Linked DNA regions of Homo sapiens: regions 1 and 3 are each linked to region 2. The links are contacts of gene promoters, found by promoter capture Hi-C in blood cells and fetal thymus (Javierre and others, 2016). All regions are on one chromosome and are shown on one strand. The core of a region is centred on a gene start or on the middle of the fragment in contact, and the rest is flanking DNA. Distances in the headings are between cores, read along the strand shown. Region 1 holds the start of APOA2 (apolipoprotein A2). Region 2 holds the start of FCRLB (Fc receptor like B). Region 3 has its middle 3.8 kb from the start of OLFML2B.

Region 1 (3,750 bases), core at 1-2,500, 500 kb before region 2:
GGGTTGGAAGACAATGGTCTGGACACTTCACTGGGTGGCAGGCTGTGTTCCAAGTTCCACGAAATAGCTCAAGAAGTTAACCAGTTCCGTTCCAGCCTTCTTGATCAGGGGTGTCAGCTGCTCCTTTGACTTTTCAAAGTAAGACCTGGATAGGTGAGGGGATTAGAGTTTAATCTGAGGGACCCTAGGCACTGGCAGGGGCCTTGGTGGTGGTGGGAGGTCAGAGCAGACTGACTCAGGTCCCCAAACTCTAGTGCCTGGTCCATCGCATGGCAAAGCCCCTAGGTAGGAATAGAGTCAAGACCTTTGCTAGGTAGAGGGACAGACTCTAGAGACTGAAATTCAAGGCCCAGTTCTTGCTGTTCCTCTCTATCTAAGAGACGTGTGGGATCTTTGGGTGATGAAATACTTTTTCTCTGCAATTTAAGCCTAATCTGCCCTAATCCCCACCCCTGGGTTCAGACTTCTGTGGGACCTCTCATCTTCCCTTCTTTCTCTCCACAGTTCCACAGCCCCTGAACCCCTTGCCCTGAGACTTACTTGGCCTCGGCCTGAAGCTCTGGGCTCTTGACCTTCTCCATCAGGTCCTTGCCATAGTCAGTCACGGTCTGGAAGTACTGAGAAACCAGGCTCTCCACACATGGCTCCTTTGCCTGTCTCCGAACCAAAGCTCCTGCCCACACACACACACACACACACACACACACACACACACACTCTTTTCAGCTGGGTCCACAGCAGTGAATCCTGGCCTCCTGCCATACCTCTGCCAGTACCCACCCCAGCTCTCTGCCCCCTCCCCAAAAAGGTATCCAGCCAGATCTTTGGATGGGCTTTCTGGGCTTTAGAGAGGGAATGATCTTCCTTTTGAGCCCTTTGGTTGCCAGACCTGGATATAAGAGCACAGGCAGATAGGTAGCTATAACCACCAGCACATTCTCCCTTTTGGCCCCCTCTCCATATCACACCCACCTTCAAGGCTGCAGATGGTGAGGAGTAGCACAGTTGCTGCGAGCAGCTTCATGTTGGTAACAGTGGGGAGGGCGGCCTAGGAAGAGGGTGGTGGGGGTTTGGGGGACACTGAAGCCAAATGGGCTTCAGCTCCTCCCCAGGGATCTCCCTACCTGCTGCCCATTCCAACCTGGCTCTCTCCCTCTCCACAACTGAAGCCCAGGCCTCTTTGGATGCTGCTCACACATCTTGCCTCCTTATCTTACCTAGCCAGCGTCTCTGTCCTTGGTGTCTGTGCCTGCCCTGGCTGGAGAGGAAGGGGCTATATACCTGTCTGTTTACCCACCCCCTGTCAGGTGACAGGGACTATGGATGGGCCCAGTGGGGCAGGGATTATGTGAGGATAAACAAGTTGGAGAAATGGGGGAGGAGAGGACAAGCACATGGAAGACTCATGGTGATGGGGTGAGAGGCAGGGGGTACAGCTCTTAGTGGAGGCTAAGGGGGTACACTTCAGGTATATTTGAGGTTCATTCTTTTGAGATCTGAGGTCCTTGGACTTGAGTGCAACAGGAAGCAGGATTCCAAGTTATTTCTCTGGAAAGCTCTGACATATCAACCCATGGAATACCATCAACCCATCATACCATGGAAAGCTCATGGTGTCTTTATTCCATTATGGGTAGATCTCATCTCTCAACCTTATCCCACTTTACTGCAACTTGGCAGAGAGATATTGGGGAGCAGAAGAAAGGAGAAAGGAATTGAAATCAGGGACAGGGTTGAGGGCTATGGGGGTTAGGGGAATGAGGGTCGGGTAAGAGGGCAAGTGTAAATGATCTTGTCCGTTTTTGAGTTAATGTGTAATGAGACGGGGAGAAAACAGGAGAGCCCAGAATGACCTGGATGCTGATCACTGAACATACCCTACCCCCAGTAAAACAAATTCAGAAAACAGCTTCCGCCCGTCCCCTCCCAATGGAGGGCTCTGGCAGGAAAAGAGGTGAATAAGAGGCTTCTACCAGGGTAAAGGTTGAAGGCACCTGGTCATTTGATCACCTTATCAGTTCTAGGCAGTGATTAGCCAATATTGAGTCAGCAGGGGCAATAGCCCTGGCCCTTGTCTCACTCCTGTTGGGGGTGGGGGAGGGGGAGAGGTACATTCCCAGGTTCAAAGCATTTGGGTGAAATCAGTTAAATAGATATCAGAAGCTTTTGTATCTTTCACCCTTTTGCCCCCCAAGCATACTCGCTGAGTATGTGGAACATTCCTGAGGGTGACAGTGGAGGCGCAAAGCTGATGAGGGAGGTAGTGACCAGAGACCAAGAAATCTTTGTTTTTTAACTTTTGTTTTAAATTCAGAAGTATATGTGCAGGTTTTTTTGTTTGTTTTCCTGAGACGGAGTTTTGCTCTTGTTGCTCAGGCTGGAGCGTAATGGCATGATCTCGGCTCACTGCAACCTCCACCTCCCGGGTTCAAGGATTCTCCTGCCTCAGCATCCCAAGTAGCTGGGATTACAGACATGCGCCACCACGCCCGGGTAATTTTGTACTTTTAGTAGAGACGGGGTTTCCCCATGTTGGTCAGGCTGGTCTTGAACTCCCGACCTCAGGTGATCTGCCCGCCTCGGCCTCCCAAAGTGCTAGGATTACAGGCATCAGCCACCGCCCCTGGCCTATATATGCAAGTTTGTTACACACGTAAACTTGTGTCATGGGGATTTGTTGTACAGATTATTTCATCACCCAGGTATTAAGCCTAATATCCATTAGTTATTTTTCCTGATCTTCTCCCTCCTCCCACCCTTCACCCTCCAAGACCAAGAACTCTTACTCCATTTTCAATTATTCCCCTGTGGAGCGCTTAGTGCTTGAGGTCAGCCCTTTGGCTTGTCCCTGGTCCTGGGATGGAGTGCCTTTGGGGGCCAGGCTCCATATTCCTAGATTTTATTTGCCAACTCTGCCTTGGGACTCAGGGAAGGAAGGGTTAAATACAGAAAGCAGCTGTTTCAGCGAATAGTTCTGCTAGAACTTACTCCTCTGCGCCAAACTCTCACACCCGTTTCCATTCCACCAAGTGGTCAAGAGCGGGGACTTCGAGAGATGTAGACCTCCAGAAGAGAAGGGTGGGTCCCTGTTCTAGGGAGTGCTGCGCTTAATGAGTAGTACTCATTTGGAGGTGTGCTGTGGAGGGCTGTGAGGAGGATTTCCCATGGGTTCTTTGGAGAGAAGGGAGCGATAGAAATGAACCAGGGTTCCAAAGAAGTCTTCATAATCGTTCTTTCTGCCACCCTTCACACTATGCCAGTCTACAAGCTGTAGTTCCACTTTTCTCATGGATGAAACTACATGGGTGGAAGGAGCTTCAGTGGCCCAAGCTACAAGATGCTCCCTCTAGTGTCTTGTACGCTCACAAGTTTTTTTCCGACCTTGGAGAGGCCTAGTGATCTAAAGCCTTCCACTTAAGTCTAAGGGGCCACCAATCAAGTCCTGCCCGCCTCTGCAGCTCCAGGGTTGAAGCTCTTGGGCCGTCAGACCTGCCACTCATTTTCTTCCTCCCTTCCCATTGGCCCATGGTAAATAGCGAGGCTTTTTTTTTTTTTTTTTTTTTTCATTGATTGGGCGGGGCCCAATCAGGGTTGGGTTGGGTCTTTGACAGCTTTCTTTGCCAGATTCAAAGATGGCGCTTACGGCCACGCTAAGAATGCAGCGTGAAGCTGCAGTTCTGCCATCACTCAAGATGGCTGCCCCCATCAAGATGACCGGGGTGTGCCGGGGGGAAAGGGGCAGCATGATGG
Region 2 (3,709 bases), core at 1,169-3,668:
TAGATCAGAGTGAGTGAGGGGGAGAGTTGTAGGAAATGAGGCCAAGGGTCAGAGAAAGGCCCGATTTGTAGGGCCCTGTAGACCATGGGAAGGTGTTTGGAACTTATTCTGAGGGTACCTATGGGGAATTTTGAGAGAAAGTAACACAATATGGTTAACATTTTAAAAGTATCTCTCTAGCGACTCAGTGAATAAATTACTGTACAAAAAGATCAATGTAGCAGGTAGAGTCATCAGGACTTGCTGATGAATTAGATTTGAGTTTTGGAATGAGTGTGCATGTAACTCATGAACATAATTCTGCAGTCTTGCTCTCAGGTGTGTATCCCATAAAGGCGCTTCAGGGCTCTGTAGGGAAGCATCATGTCCTTACCAGTACTAACTTACATGAAACTTCCTATGTGCCAACCCCTGTTCTAAGCCCTTTACATATGTTAATTCATCCAGCCCTCACAATATGTACCAAGAAGTCCATTGTGGAATTGTCTGTGGTAGCTGAGGGTGGGCAGCAACTAGGATGTTAGGGGAATGGACAAGTGCAGTGTAGCAGAAGCATAGAATATTAGGGCAGTCATGGCTGGGCGCAGTGGCTCATGCCTGTAATCCCAGCACTTTGGGAGGCTGAGGTGGGTGGATCACCTGAGGTCAGGAGTCCAAGACCAGCCTGGCCAACATGGTGAAACCCCATCTCTGCTAAAAACACAAAATTAGCCAGGCGTGGTGATGCACGCCTGTAATCCCAGCTACTCAGGAGGCTGAGGCAGGAGAACTGCTTGAACCCAGGAGGTGGAGGTTGCAGTGAGCTGATATCATGCCATTGCATGCCAGACTGGGTAATAAGAGCAAAACTGCGTCTCAAAAAAAAAGAATATTAGGGCAGTCAAAAGCAATAAACATGATGCATGTAGAGCAATCTGAACAAATTTGAAACATCTGGGATTAATTTTTAAAAGTAGAAGTGAATATAATATCTAGAACACAATGCCACTTATGTAAATTAACAACACTAAATATTTCTCAAAGCTAAAAACTGCATGTTATACCTAATGTAAATGACGAGTTAATGGGTGCAGCACACCAACATGGCACATGTATACATATGTAACAAACCTGCACGTTGTGCACATGTACCCTAGAACTTAAAGCACAAAAAAAAATAGCATGTATATGGGAACACACAGTAAACATTTTACAGTGGGTGCTTATGTGGAGGGGAGGAGGACAATAATGTGGGTGAAAGTCAACAAGGTAAGACAATAAGAGGGGGAACTTGCAAAGACCAATAATGACAGCCGGCCATGAGCAGCATCTTGAATCCCTGACAATCAGAGAGATAAGAGAACAGATTTTGGAGACAGACTTCTATTCAAATCCCAGTTTCATCATCTCAGTTTCCTCATATGCAAAATTGGGATATTAATAATTCTTCCTCAAAGGGCCTTACAAGAATTAAGTGCAGTAATATCTGTGAAGCACTTAGCATAGTGCCTGCCACATGCCGAGACACTAAAGTGAGCTGTCATCAGCAACAACAGCATTAGTTCATTACTGTAATTATCACTGAGAACACTTTATCACCAGAATGCTTATCAAATGGTGACATATATTGTCCAGATGTTATGTTGTGATAGGCCTCAAATAATTGCTCAAGTTACAAATGATAATTTCTAAATTTTTCTGCATTGTAAAGGAGTGAAGAATTAGAAATTCTGGGGAAAAGTCCTAGATGGAGTAAAAAGACTCACTTTGGGAAAAACTTAGAGGAGAGCCTAGAATAAATAAATATTTCGTGGGAAATTTTTCAAGTCAAATTCTGAGCACTGTATAATATGAACAGTATGGATGGTTCCAGAGGTTTCTAGGGACGACTATACAGTTCACAAAGTTTTGGTGTACTAAGGTTTCTTCTGAATCGAGTAAAGGGGCTGAGATCTGTGCTCTGGGGGATGAGAAGCCAAAATAGAGCCAGCTTGTGTTGCCTAAGAGGACAGCTGACAACTGCATTGCATTCTTACCATTGAGGTGGTGGCTTGGTGCAGAAGTCAGACCTCTGTGGCAGGCTGTGGATCATGTGGGAAGCCACACACTGGCCCTGAGACGAGGAATTATTAGGATGGAGGGGAAGCACAAGAGTGCTGGTCAGCCCAGGCACTCCTAAAGCAGGCAGGTGATCATCCCTGTTCCCAGTAATTAGTTCTTCTCTGCCTCCCCTACTCTTGGGCACATTGTCAAATATGTCCCTACTTTGTTTGAAATCTACAGGACTCTATCTCTTTTATCAAAACCTGCACTCAAAACATGATCTGAAGTGACCAGCATAATTTAAATGACCAGTCACATTTTCCTAAGAGGCATTTGCATTTTTAAAAGGGGCTAGTCCATTAAGCAAAATATGAGGGGACTCTCAGAGTGGAACTTCAGGCATCAGCAAGAGGGGAAGATACTATCTTCCTGGGAGTTGACAGTACCTGATAATTGATCTCCTTCCCATCAGATTTCCAAGGGATCAAGGTGCCCCGGTTCTAAACAACCACAGGTAAGGACAGGATAGAGTCCAAGGAGACACACTATCAGGCTGGAAAATTCATTAAGTATTTACATGAAAATTCAGGTTCTCCTCATTGCTCAGGTACGGTCACATGGCTCAGAAAGCACAAGAAGTAGAGCCCCGAGGTCAGATCTGAGAGGCTTCTGAGGGGCCGATGCAGTGACTTCTCTGCTGCAGGTCAGGAGTTCTGGAACTGGGGCGTGGCTGGGGAGGGGTTGCAGGGAAGGGTGGGAGGAAGGAAGAAAAGAACAAGTGATTGGAAGTGCCACAGGATGAGCTCATTGGGATGGGTAGGAAAGAAGAGTTTTCTAACTTCTTAAGAATTTAAGAATTTATGAGAACTCAAGATTTCAGGAAGGGAGGAAGAAGAAACACATTGCATTTCTATCCTTGACTGGGGAACTAGATGATAGGGATGTGAAGGGTGGTTGGTGAGTCATGCCTTTTCGTCTACTCATTGTGGCAGGATGTGAGCTCTGGGGGCAGGCAACCGAACACTGACCTCTCTAGGTCTCATGCCAATGTCTGTCATCAGGAGTGAGCAGGAAAAAGGTCCTTAAGGACATGAGGCCGTGTCTTCCTCAGCTGAGCCTTGCAGGGCTGGCTGGAAGGTGGAGAAGGGATGGGATGGGAGTGGGATGTCAATGGGAGCCTGAAGATGGCGGGGTCATCTGCTGGAGCCTGGGGTTCTATGGGGCTCTCTTGTGCTGTGGAGGGCACAAGTTCTGCAGGCCTTCCTTTCAGTAGTCAGGGCTGGCCTGAGCTGTGAGGTGGCTGTAGATGCGGTAGATGAGACAGTGCCTGGCACTTGGGATACCTGATATTCAGCCTGTCTCCCACTGGTTCTGGTCTGCTATCTTCAGGAACTAGGAGTGGGTGGGAGAAGCAGCAATGTCTCCTAGTACTCAGTGGCATCCACTGGCCACATTCTTTCTCTCTGTTCCCCATCTCATGCCAGTGCATCTCCATCCTTCTGCAGCTGCTGCAGTCAGATCCATCATGTGGCCACTGACAGCCCTTCTGCTCCTGGGTGAGTCCACAGTGAGGCAGCAGAAGAGCTTTGGGTGGTGGAGAATAGGGTGGACCAAGGTATGGGGAGAGGAGGGTGGGTATCCAATCCTCAGTTTCCAAGTGGTTCATTATCTTTTTTTGGAGGGGTGA
Region 3 (4,319 bases), core at 1,397-3,896, 310 kb after region 2:
CCCAGCTACTCTAGAGGCTGAGGCAGAAGAATCGCTTGAACCCTGGAGGCAGAGGTTACAGTGAGCCGAGATCCGCCACTGCACTATAGCCTGGGCTACAGAGCAATACTTGGTCTCAAAAAAAAAAAAAAAATCAATTACAGTAAGCATTGAATGTTGATTAAGTGCAAGACAACAAGCTAGGTTGCTAGACATTTAATGGGAAGATGAGATAGTCCACATCTTACAAAGTGGGCGTGGGAGTCAGGAGGTAAGCAGAACAAGCACTGAAATTGTGAGGCAGAGTAAGAACATATCTCATGGGGTTTAAATAAGGAATAGGTCACTTCTAGTGGAAAGGTCAGTGTGGATTTCATGAAAGCATGATACTGAAGATGACTGGGATGATGGGAGGTTTCAACAAAACAGTGGATAAGGCAACATGATGGGAGGGGGGGCCATGGCAGGGGAGAGAAAGAGAGCATTCTGGGCAAAGACATAATCCTGAATGTGCATATTCATATTTCAGATGGCTGCTCACTTCTCAGGGCAGCCTTCCTTGACTCCACCACCAGCATAATTTCTCTATTAAATGCTCCCATAATACCATGTACCTCTTTTTCATAGAAGCAGGAGAGATGGATATTTATATTCCTCCTTTGTGGGTTGTTTTGGGGGTGCCTGTCTTCCCCACCAGACTATAAATTCAAGAGGGCAAGGACCTTGTTAGTTTTGCTCACCATTACATCTTCAGAGTTTAACCAGTGCCTAGAACAAAGTGGACACTAAATAAATATTGGTTGAATGAATGGAAATTACGAATTGTCCAACTGGGTGTAGGCTCAGTTACCTTTATAAATACCATCTCTGTATCCATTAGGGTGCATTTGACTGCAAGTGATAGAAAATCCTTCTAGGAATGTCTCAGTCAAATATACATTTATTATCCCACTCTAAGAAGACAAGCTTGGCTGTTTAAAATTTAATTCAGCAACTCAGTGATGTCAGCGAGGACCCAAGCTCTTTCCATTTTCCACTCCATTATTCTTACAGCATTGGCTTTTTGACCTAGTCATAATTGATTTAAGCAAGTCCCAGCTACCCCTGTGCCAGACATTCAATTTCCCAGTCTCCTTTACAGCTAGGGGTAACCACCCGGACAAGATATTTTGCTTCCTGATAAAAGAAACAAATAGGAGAGAGGACCTTTCTGGTGCTACTCTTCCCTCACTTCTTGTCTTTGATTGTGTCTTTGACCACAGTCAAAGTGTTATAGGACCAACAGGTTCTTATGCCCGCTGTGCAGTAACAGACCAATTACACTATGTCAGCAGGGTTTGCAGCAGAGAAAGAATTTGATGATTGCAGGGCACCACGTCAGGAGATGGGAGGAGACCCTTGAATCCATCTCTCCAAGGAGCTCTGGGCTGGCGTTTTAATTTAAGGGGATTGTGGAGAGTGAGTGGCTAAAAAATTGAGGTTATTAATTGGTTGGGCCAAGACGATGGAACAAAGTTCTATCATCAGGATGTGGAAACTGCCTTCTTTGGTGAGTCAGGATCTCATGGGGTCCTTCAAACTAGCTGAGTCAGTAGCTTCATCAGTATGCAGGACCCAAAAGAGTATCTCAAAGGGAAAACATAATGTTTCATAATGTTCAAGTTGTTTTCTATAGAACAGTTAAGGGGCTTTATAATCTTTTAACAGGATCTATGTGATTCTGAGGCAATAGGCACAGAGTAACTATGAGGAAACAGGTCAGAGAGCAAGTAGACCTCACGATTACTGCTGAATGTGCTGTGAACTTGGTTTATTTTCATTTCTTCCCTTTCCTTCTTCCCTGGTTAATTTTATAAAGTTTATAGGGGCTGTTTCAAAAGTGCCAGGAGCTGTGGCAGCCATCTTATGACCATGAGTCCTTTCTCTTATCTAACTAAAATATATTTCCTTTAGGGTCTACTTTTAAAGTCACCTTTTAATGTCCAGTCCTACAGTCCTACACAGAATATGTCTAAGGACTTTCTCACGGAGAGTTTCATTCCTTTCACTTAAAGATAAATAGTTAAGTACTGGCCGGGCATGGTGGCTCACGCCTGCAATCCCAACACTTTGGGAGGCCGAGGCAAGTGGATTACTTGAGGTCAGGAGTTCAAGACTAGCCTGGCCAACATGGCAAAACCCTGTCTCTGTTAAAAATACAAAAATTAGCTGGGCCTGGTGGCACACGCCTGTAATCCCAGTTACTTGGAAAGATAAGGCAGAAGAATCACTTGAACCGGGGAGGCAGAGGTTGCAGTGAGCCGAGATCACACCAATGCACTCCAGCCTGGGCAACAGAGAAAGACTCTGTCAAAAAAAAAAAAAAAAAAAAAAAGGTTAAGTACCTTCTAAATATCCTCTTTCTCAACATCACTAGCCCACTTTCTTCATCTTTTATCTCCATTATATTCAACTGTTTCTCAAACCACATGGCCTTCCAAACTCTTCATTATTTTGGTTATTTTCTCTCTAGAAAGACTCCAGTTTGAGTAGATATTAGAACCTATTGAAACAATTTGTTCTTTTTTTTTCTGGGCACTGTGCTTTTATTAATGCAGCCTAAGATTACCTTAGTTTTGGCAGCCAGATTGCACCAACGACTCACACTGATTTATCTTTTAAGTGTAGTTTTTAAATTTATTTTTGTGTGAATTTTTTACTGGTTTCCTCCATTCTGTGCTTTCCAGCTATGTTCTCTCTTTTTTTTTAATCCAAGTATAGGTGTTTACATTTTTACTGTAACAGTGTGATGATTTTGGTCCATTTTTTCATCCTGTTGAAATATTGCTATTTTTGCTTTTGTCCTGGTTTTGCATAATTTCCAAATTCACTAAGCATAGTTTCTGTCTTAGTTCAAATGATTAATTTTAAAAAGCCATCTTCCTTCAGATAGGGCCATATTCTAGAGCTCTACCTCCATAATAGGAAAAGTCTCTCCTTATTGATGTTAACCGTTTTGGTGTATGACTGTTCAGGCAGTCATGGGTGTTGGTGCCTAGTCCACATGTCTTCATCATGTCTACAAGCATTTCTTGAGAGACTTTTATCACTGTCTTTCAGAAATCAAGATACACTGCTCATGGCATTGCTTCTACCTGCCTGCCTGGCAACCTGAACTGATGATTCTGTGATGAGCTTGGTTTGGCTTTAGCAAATTGGGTTAAGTGCTTTTTACTTGTGTTAAAAAAAAAAAAAACATAGCTGGAAAGCACAGGATAGAGGAAACCGGCATAAAATTCACATAAAAATCCCTGCATCTTTTGCTCAGAGCCTATGAATTCCACGTCACTGGATCCTCGCATCATGGTGTAAAATAAGTCTTGCCCTCCCTGGTTAACAGATGAAGTCATTGAAGCACCAACACAGTGATATGTATGATGGCGACTCTGTACTGAGTGCTTCCCATGTGCCAGGCATCATTTGACGGTCAGAAATCCCCTGAGTCAGTATCATTTCCTCTTACAAATGAGGAAACAGGTTTAGAGACGGACAGACTGTGGAAATGTTCCAAGAACTGGGTCTCAGAAAGCCGTAAGTGTGCCACTTCATCTATCTTAGACCCTGGACCTCACCAGTTGTGGCTGGCTAGCAGGTTGTTGAATTCTGGGGATCCCTCAGCAACCACAACCACCATCCCTCACGAGCCAGTTTGCATCTGGCAAGAGCATCTGTTTTCCCGTTTACCTAGGAGCCTCCTGACTTTGCTCTGAAATGTCTGTCTGTTGAAAATTAAGGCTTCATTTGCCAGGTGGGGCCAAGGTGGCTAGAAATGGCCTGCCACCTTTGTGTGTAATTGAGAAAATGCACCTGCCCCACGGCAGCAGAATCAAAGAGCAAGGCAAAGTCCCACGAGCAACATCATTCTGCCATCTCCTTTCCCTGGCTCGCTGCAGAGTGGGAGCTGTGCCAGGGAACTGCCATAAAAATGCTGGAAAGGAATGATGGAAAGCACAACTGAAAATGAGGTCTTTTTTCCCCTGGTCACCCTGCTTTGCTGCTTTCCTGGCTTCTTATTTTGCCTCTGATCTTCTACATTCTCTCTCTCCTTTAATTCAGTTTAATTCATTTATTGAATATATATATTATGAGCCAGGCACTCTGTGAACTGCTGAATACACAAAGATGAAGATGACAAAAAACCTTTGCCTTCAGGAACTCATGTTATAAAGATTATAAATGTTTGATCCTGGGAAAGGGTACAGAAGAGTATGTTTTTCCTCAAGATATTTTAGCAAAGAAAATAAGTTTTTCCTTCTCTGAATTTCCCCAGTTTTAAGAACAATTTGCATTTCCTCATACGC

The links. Contacts are between HindIII fragments. The CHiCAGO score rates a contact against its expected background, and 5 or more counts as called.
Region 1: a contact is called between the fragment with the promoter of APOA2 here and the fragment with the promoter of FCRLB in region 2, in 2 of 17 cell types (naive B cells and neutrophils). The highest score is 6.3, in naive B cells.
Region 3: a contact is called between a fragment that was not itself captured here and the fragment with the promoter of FCRLB in region 2, in 1 of 17 cell types (naive CD8 T cells). The highest score is 5.1, in naive CD8 T cells.

Annotation. Positions count from the first base shown.
Region 1 is chr1:161,222,378-161,226,127 of GRCh38, forward strand. APOA2 (apolipoprotein A2) reads right to left here and starts at 1,251. Exons shown (of 4, transcript NM_001643.2): 1 at 1,218-1,251; 2 at 973-1,048; 3 at 541-673; 4 at 1-145. The coding sequence starts at 1,024. The coding sequence ends at 28. It overlaps TOMM40L (translocase of outer mitochondrial membrane 40 like), which reads left to right and starts at 3,683. Exons shown (of 10, transcript NM_032174.6): 1 at 3,683-3,750. RefSeq lists enhancers at 3,089-3,198, 3,659-3,728. The HindIII fragment of the contact is 2,953 bases long and covers 1-2,161 here.
Region 2 is chr1:161,719,126-161,722,834 of GRCh38, forward strand. FCRLB (Fc receptor like B) reads left to right here and starts at 2,419. Exons shown (of 8, transcript NM_001002901.4): 1 at 2,419-2,536; 2 at 2,630-2,725; 3 at 3,528-3,578. The coding sequence starts at 3,548. RefSeq lists enhancers at 3,201-3,300, 3,381-3,480. The HindIII fragment of the contact is 7,241 bases long and covers 1-3,709 here.
Region 3 is chr1:162,025,470-162,029,788 of GRCh38, forward strand. No RefSeq gene overlaps it. Among named protein-coding and RNA genes, the nearest start is that of OLFML2B, 3.8 kb to the left of the region's middle. The HindIII fragment of the contact is 3,406 bases long and covers 944-4,319 here.